Linked DNA regions of Homo sapiens: region 2 is linked to region 1. Evidence: promoter capture Hi-C in 16 types of primary human blood cells and fetal thymus (Javierre and others, 2016). All regions are on one chromosome and are shown on one strand. Each heading gives the region's core, a stretch centred on a gene start or on the middle of the fragment in contact. The rest is flanking DNA. Distances are from core to core; before and after follow the strand shown. Region 1 holds the start of SYT8 (synaptotagmin 8). Region 2 has its middle 8.5 kb from the start of KRTAP5-5.

What was found. Contacts are between HindIII fragments. The CHiCAGO score rates a contact against its expected background, and 5 or more counts as called.
Region 2: a fragment that was not itself captured here is called in contact with the fragment with the promoter of SYT8 in region 1 in 1 of 17 cell types (fetal thymus); the score reaches 5.1 in fetal thymus.

What each region holds. Positions count from the first base shown.
Region 1 is chr11:1,832,785-1,836,239 of GRCh38, reverse strand. SYT8 (synaptotagmin 8) reads right to left here and starts at 1,250. Exons shown (of 8, transcript NM_001394072.1): 1 at 1,041-1,250; 2 at 781-944; 3 at 256-354; 4 at 1-114. The coding sequence starts at 1,134. RefSeq lists enhancers at 2,060-2,673, 2,674-3,289 and a silencer at 3,392-3,451. The HindIII fragment of the contact is 25,919 bases long and covers 1-3,455 here.
Region 2 is chr11:1,636,199-1,640,409 of GRCh38, reverse strand. No RefSeq gene overlaps it. Among named protein-coding and RNA genes, the nearest start is that of KRTAP5-5, 8.5 kb to the right of the region's middle. The HindIII fragment of the contact is 509 bases long and covers 2,269-2,777 here.

The DNA of each region.
Region 1 (3,455 bases), core at 1-2,500:
GTGCACTTTTGTCTCATGTCTGTGTCCGGCCTGGGTGGAGACGCTGACCCGGGCATAGGGGTCCACGGTGCCCCCAGGCCTCAGGTCGGCTGCCTGCCTCAGGCCCACCCTGATCTGGGAGCCAGCGGGGTGGGCTCAGCCAAGGGCCCCTGCCCTGTCAGCTCCCCACCACCCAGGGCATGGGGTCTGCCCTTCCCCCGTCACCCTTTCCGGAAACTCGCAGAACCGCTGGTCCTGCGCAGCGGGGCCCTTCACCTCCTGGCTTCCAAAGTCGAACTCCAGGGAGAGCTGCAGGCACCCCCATTGCTGAGCATCCCCCGGGCTGGACTCCAGGCCATCCACATCAGGTTGCACCTGGAGTGAGTTGGGACAAGGGGCAGGTGGTGCTGACATCATGCCTCATCAGAGCCCTGGGCTCCCGGGCAGCCCTTGCATGACATGGGTCAAGACCCCCCGCCTCCAGGCCAGGCCACCCAACAGGCACAAATCGTCGGCTTCGCTCTGTGAGACCGGCCAAACCCACCCAAAACGTGGCATCTGGGGTACCCCCTGCCTTCCTCAAGAACCCGCTGTGGCTCCCTCGGGCCCATGGGGCAGCCCCTGTTGCATGGCCTCCTTCTCACCTCTGTTCACCCACTTTCCCTGCCAGGAAGGTCCTCAACGCCCTGCCTCTGTGGGGGTTAAACCATCCCTGGGGCTGAACTCGCCTCGCTGCCCTGGGCTCTGGAGCCTGGATTTCAAGCCCTCTCTGGACTGAGTGAGCAAGGAGCCGCTCCTCACCAGGTGGGTGGTGGTGGTGCCGCGGGCACTGCCCAGACCCACGGACTCCTTGTCCCTGGGCTTCTTCCTGTGGCGGCGGCAGCAGCAGCAGGCAGCACAGAGGAGGCAGGAGACGAGGAGGACGCCCGCGGCAAGGGCGCCGGCAATGAGAGCCCAGCGGGGCCCTGGGGTAGAGGCCAGGCTGAGTGCATCTGTGGACAGCTGCAGCCCCCACTTGGCTGGGTTATCCCCACACCCCTCTTGGGAATCCCACAACTCACAGGGGGTCCCGGCGACAAGGTCTGGAATAAGCCCAGGTATAGCTGTGGTGCCAGCTGGGGCCGGGGCACTGGGAGAGACTGGTGGGTGCCCCATCTTTCTACCCTGCTGGTTTGGAAGAAGCGGCCCAGGAGGCTGGGTCAGCTGGGAGGGTGGCCCCTCCGGCCCCTGCCCGCTACCCCATCTGACTAGCAGCAGCCAGTGCTGGGTCTGCCAGGGCAAGGAGGCAGCACGGGGTGGCCAGGGGCGAGGGTTCTGTGCAGCAGGAAGCTGAAGGGAGGGAGGCTCTGGACCCTGGCCAAAGCTCCAGCTTAGCTGCCCAGGCCCAGCCTCCCAGCCACCTCCCAGCAGCCCCCAGCCCCAGCCAAGCAGGCAGGGCCTGGGCAGCCTAGTCCCTGCCTTCACCGGACCTCAGAGCACCCTTGCCCCCACTGTAGGATGCGTCCTCCACCAGGAAGCTCTCTCCCTCCCTGCTTCTCTCTCCTGGGCCCTGGACCCTGGGCCCTGCCTGGGGGTCCCATCTCATCCCTGGGGGTCTCATCTCTGCGGTCCCATCACTTCCTTGCCTCTACCCCAGCACGCACCACAGCTGGGGCCCACCATGGTTTGCCAGCCATGCAGGTGGAGCATGTTCACTGCAGCCCCCAGGAACTTGGAAGCCCAGAGGGGTCTGCAGGGTCATGGCGGGAGGAGCAGGGCTGGCTGTCGGCGGAGCTCACTGAGCAGGCCTGGGCTAAAGGTGCATTCCTGGCAGGGGCTCAGGGCCGCAGCGCCTGAGGATGAAGGTGAGGTGGTGGCAGGTAGGGGCAGGGTGCAGCTGGGAGCGGCCAGAACATTCCACACACACTGACTCAGCCGCTGCCTGGACTCGTCCACCTGCCTGCCTGGCCACCCTTCGGCATGTGGGTGGGAAGGAAGGTGGGGCGGGCGCAGCTGCTGGCCCCTGTACCCGCCTGCCTAGGGCCTGGGGAGGGAGCACACCTGGCTGGGCTGGCTCCTGTCACCTACAGGCAGGGGAACCAGGGTGCTACATGGGGCCTACGGTGACCCCAGGCCCAGGGTGACTCCCCAGCTCAGCTCTTCCCTGACTCCACCCGCTCCAGAGAGCAGCAGCCAGCCAGGAGACTCTGTTCCTCCACATTGGCGCCTCCCCTGCTTTGCCCACAAGAGCCTGGGACCCCTCTTGCCATGTCCAAGTCAGCCTGGCCTCAGGGGCCCAGCCCAGGCCATCCCATCGGGAATAAGCAGCTGTTGAGGCCAGATACCCTCACCTCTGCAGCCCCCCAGTCTGGGGCAGAGCAAGGAGACAGACAGAAAGGGACCCTGCCATGACTCCAGACACACACACACACACACACACACACACACACACACACACACACACACGCACGCGCACACAGCATCAATGCCCCACTCCCTGGCAGGCTGGGAGAGGCAGCTGCACTCCCAGAACGGACCCAAACCCCCAGTGTTCAGATGAGGGGGCTGCAGCTCAAGGAGGGGAGGGAGGGTCCAGGTTCCAGCCCCACACGCATGTTGACCCTGTGAGGTCAGCAGGCCAGGTGTTTTACAGACGAGTGGACCGAGGCTGGGAGCTCTAGTTTTGTGGCTCTGGAGGCCAGCATGGCCTGGGAAGCCCAGCCTGTCCCCAGAACACAGGGGCCAGCACAATGGAGGGATTATAGGTACAAAAAGGAGATGCGGAGGTCAGGGCCAGCTTTCCAGGCTGCACCCTGTGCGCAGGGCCCCATGCTCAGAGGGGTCCCTGCTTGGTTTAATGCGTGCTGGGGCCATCTTGAAATTCTTAATTTTGGAACAAGATGCTGCACATTTTCATTCTGCACTGGGCCTCACAAATGACGGAGCTTGTCGAGTTCGGGGGACCCTTTGGGTGAGTCCCCTGCAGATGCAGTGTGGGTGTGCAGTGAAGCTCACGGGCCTCGGCAGCCCCTCAGCTCCTGGGGGACACTCCCAGGTGGGTCCGGCGTCCCACACGTGGCTGGCGGAGCGCTCCTACTGGTGGTGGCTGATGGAATGGGCTGGGTCCGCAGGGTCCCTGGAGCGGGACTGTGCCGGCCAGATTCAAACAGGCCACTGCCTCCTCCCTACGTGGAGTTTCAAGGCAACTTCTCTTTTTGAAATGTCAGAGCCTGTATACATGCTGAGATTAAAGTAGCTTCACTCCAGATTTTTATGGTTGAGATTCCGGATAAGTTGCCAATACAGAATCTCCATCTGTGAGTGCGGGCATGTGTGCGTGTGCGTGTGCGTGCGCCCCTCCCCTGTGCCCCCGCTTTGCTGGCGTCCCCCCTCCTTTAGTCTAAGAACAGTCAGGGCCGGGCGGGGAGAGCTCCCCTGCAGTGATTTGCCGCGGCCGGCCAGCGGCACTCCCGGGCCAGCCTGGTGACCTTGTCCCC
Region 2 (4,211 bases), core at 1,274-3,773, 200 kb after region 1:
GGGCTGTCGCCTGCATCCGCGGTTGGAGTTTGCCAGACACCTGGCGCCTTGGGCCACCTCTGGGCTCCAGAACCTGCAACCCTGGGCACACGGCTCTCCCGCCGTCTTGCCACAGTGCCCCCTGGCGGCCCTGCTGAGTCAAGCCGGCTTCCTGTCTTCCCAGACTGGGCTCTTCCCTGAAACCCGGGAGGGAAAGGTGAGACTTTCAGCCCCTCTGCCCAGAGCTGCTCAGGATGGCTTGGAGCCCTGCACGTATTTGGCAAATATTTACTGTGTGTGCACTATGTGCCTGGCACTGTCATTGAACCAGAGGGTAGAACAATGACCAAAACCAGGTACACCTGTTCTCAGGGCTCCAACCTTCTGGGGAGGGATGGACACAGCAAAGGGGTGTCTGTGAGGTGACACAGTGAAGGGGCGTCTGTGAGGTGACACGTCGAAGGAACGCAAGCAAGGAGACGGAAAGAGGGAGCTGCTAGTTTACACGGGCGCTGGCGAACATAAACGTTTGTGTTTAAGTACAAAGAAAATGGTTGCAGCTGTGCAGGCCTCGGGGGTTCACACTGGGACGATGACCACGGCTGCAGCCTGGTGCCCCCCAGCTTGGGGAAAAGAAGGAAATGAAGAGCAGGGTGCAAGCTCAGATCGAGACGGCCCAAACCCAAGAAGCCAAAAGTGTATTGGGGTGCAAGCTATGCTTTACGCTCTTATGCATTCTTCTTCCATTTGTAAAAAAGTTTGGACATGCAGAGAATCTGCGTTTGGTGCCTTTCAAATCGAGGGAATAAAAGGTCCCGCCTCCACGGGCTGGGAGAGCCTCACACACAACACACAAGGTGATGACTGATTTCTCCTTTTCTGCAAGGAATTTCCTCACTTTCTCTTCCCAGCTCAGGAATGAGCCTTAGGAAGAGGCAGAGGTCGAACCATTTGGTTCAAGCAAGGCCCGGGGTCCGAGAGGGAGGCCTAGCTGGAGGAGATTGGGCGTTGGGAGGGGTGGGGGAGACACCGCAGGTGACCGGAGCCCCCTCCTCAGCACAGCCCCTAGCTCAGGCCCCTGAAGCTCTCTGGGTGGAGGCTGCAATCGTTACTATAAAACCATTGTCTTAGAGAGCAGGCGCCTTCCGCCCCTGGCATGGTGCCGAATAGAGATGTGATTTCGCTTTAGATATGAACGTGCACATTTGCAGGAAAACCTAATTATGGGCGTGCCTGTGTTTATACTGTATGAAGGGCTTCTCCATCTGTCGCCGTTCTATTGTTACTGTATCAGGCATTGATGGTTTATTAATACCTTTTCCGCAACATGGAGAAAACAGATGATGTTTTCCCCCGTGTCTGTCATTACTACGGTGAGTGTTTTATTGTTGGTTTGGTTTTTTGTTGTTGTTTTTCTTGAGACGCCCAAGCTAGAGTGCTATGGCGTGATCTGGGCTCACTGCAACCTCTGCCTCCTGGGTTCAAGCAGTTCTCCTGCCTCAGCCTGCCGAATAGCTGGGATTACAAGCACCTGCCACCACGCCTGGCTAATTTTTGTATTTTTAGTAGAGACAGGGTTTTGCAATGTTGGCCAGGCTTGTCTTGAACTCTTGACTTCAGGTGATCCACCTGCCTCAGCCTCCCAAAGTGCTGGGATTACAAGCATGAGCCACCACATGCAGCCTCATTTATGTCTGGTATTATTTACAATATCAGGCACATTTGCTTTCTTGATGTCAACCCTTCGTTGCCACGATGCATCATTGTGCAAATCTGATGCTGGGTCTGATTTGCCAATCTCTTGTTTATTTGTCAGCAGCCTGTGGTGGAGCCCAGCCCAGGGTCGGGGGCGAGAGTGTGGCAGGGTCAGGTGAGGACCCGGGAGGGGTCCGAGGAGCTGGGCCCTGGAGAGGGAGAGAGATAGGCCAGACACAGAAATGGTGGGACTCCTGGTTCAAAAGGTAGCAAAAGGCTGGGTGTGGTGGCTCACACCTGTAACCCCAGCACTTTAGGAGGCTGAGGTGGGCAGATCACGAGGTCAGGAGTTCGAGACCAGCCTAGCCAAAATGGTGAAACCCTGTCTCTACCAAAAATACAAAAATTAATCAGGGGTGGTGGCGTGTGCCTGTAATCCCAGCTATTCCGGACACTGAGGCAGGAGAATTGCTTGAACCTAGGAGGTGGAAGTTGCCGTGAGCCAAGATTGTGCCAGTGCACTCCAGCCTGGGGGAAATAGCAAGACTCTGTCTTGGGACAAAAAAAAAGCAGCAAAAAACCACAGTGAAAGCTTTCCCCTTTAGGAATGATTTTATCACTTACACAATAAATAGGGGTGATAGTGGTGCCAAGTAACAACACCAATTTACAAACTACAAAACAATAATTTTTGGATTCAGAATTTTATATAATAAATAATATTTTATTAATAGGATGTTTATGATTTTTCCAATTTTTTCTGCAAATTCATTTATTAGATCATCAAAATGGATACTTCAGAAATTTCATTTTCGGTTTTGACATAACTGAAAGTTATTTCAGTCTTTTTTGGCAAATGCAAGATCTCAAATAATTTTTGATGACCTTTGAGAAGAATCTTTGTGCTGATACAGCTGTTATTGGAGCAGTAAAGGTATCTTACAGGCTGTGACAACATTAGGATTAGTTTCTGATAAATTGTTTTAAATGATAAATGTCAGCGCATGTAGACCTGGTGATTCTTGTGGAGAAATTTTTTTTAAAAAAATTAATTCTTCAAAGAAATCAGTTTCATGGGAGTCTAAATTATTTTTTAATAAGCTTTATTTTTGGAATTGTTTTAGATTTACAGAAAAATTGCAAAGCAAGTTTCCATACACCTTACACCCAGCTTCCCCCATTATTAGTATCTTACTTCAGTATGGTATGTTTCTTACAATTAGAGAACCAATATTGGGCCAGGCGTGGTAGCTCACACCTGTAATCCCAGCACTTTGGGAGCCTGAGGCGGAAGGATCACTTGAGGTCAGGAGTTGGAGACCAGCCTGGCCAACATGGTGAAACCCTGTCTCTACTAAAATACAAAAATTAGCTGGACGTCGTGGCTGGCGCCTGTAATCCCAGCTACTCAGGAGGCTAAGGCAGGAGAATCGCTTGAACCCAAGAGGTGGAGGTTGCAGTGAACTGAGATCATACCACTGCACTCCTGCCTGGGCCACAGAACAAGACTCTGTCTGAAGAAAAAACTAAACTAAACTAAACTAAAAACTAAATAATGACCAAGTACGGTGGCTCACGCCTGTTATCCCAGCACTTTGGGAGGCTGAAGCAGGCGGATCACTTGAGGTCAAGAGTTCGAGACCAGCCTGGCCAACATGGCAAAACCCCGTCTCTACTAAAAATACAAAAATTAGCCAGGCGTGGTGGTGGACCCCTGTAATCCCAACTATGCAGCAGGCTGAAGGAGGAGAACTGCTTGAACCTGAGAGACAGATGTTGCAGTGAGCCGAGATCACGCCACTGTACTCTAGCCTGGGTGACAGAGCGAGACTCCATCTCAAAAAAAAAATTAAAATAAAATAAAATAGAGAACCAATATTGATACATTATTATTAACTAAAGTCCACACTTTGTTCTTCTCTCATTAGCATTTACGTGCTGGTCCGTTTCTGTCCCAGGGCCCCACCCAGGGTCCCACGTGACATTCCCTTGTCCGTCTCCCTGGGCTCCTCTGGGCGGTGACCGTTTCCCAGGCTCTCCTTGTTGGTGGTGACCTGGAGGGTTCAGAGGACTGCTCAGGTGTTTGTAGGGTGTCCCTTATTAGGATCTGTCTGGTGTTTTCACGATTAGACGGGGCTGTGGATGTGGGAAGGAAGAGCACAGAGGGAGATGCCCTTCTCGTCACCCCATGCTGAGGGCCTGTCCTGTTGGCATGGCTCGTCGTGCCTCGCGGGCTATGCTGCCCCCGTCTCCTGGCTGTGTTTGTGTCTTTCAGGATTCCCCACGGAAAGATGCTCCTGAATTCCCCTGTCCCGTGCTGCATTCTCAGAAGGAGGTCCCAGTGCTGCCTGCACTTAAGGGGTGAGGGCTACACAGAATTAGTGGGAACTCTTCTGCATGGGGGACTTGCCTATCCACTCCCATTTATTTATTTACTTTTATTTATTTACTTCTTTTGGAGACGGAGTCTCGCTCTATTGCCCAGGCTAGAGTGCAGTGGTGCGATCTCGGCTCACTGTAACCTCTGCCTCCCGAGT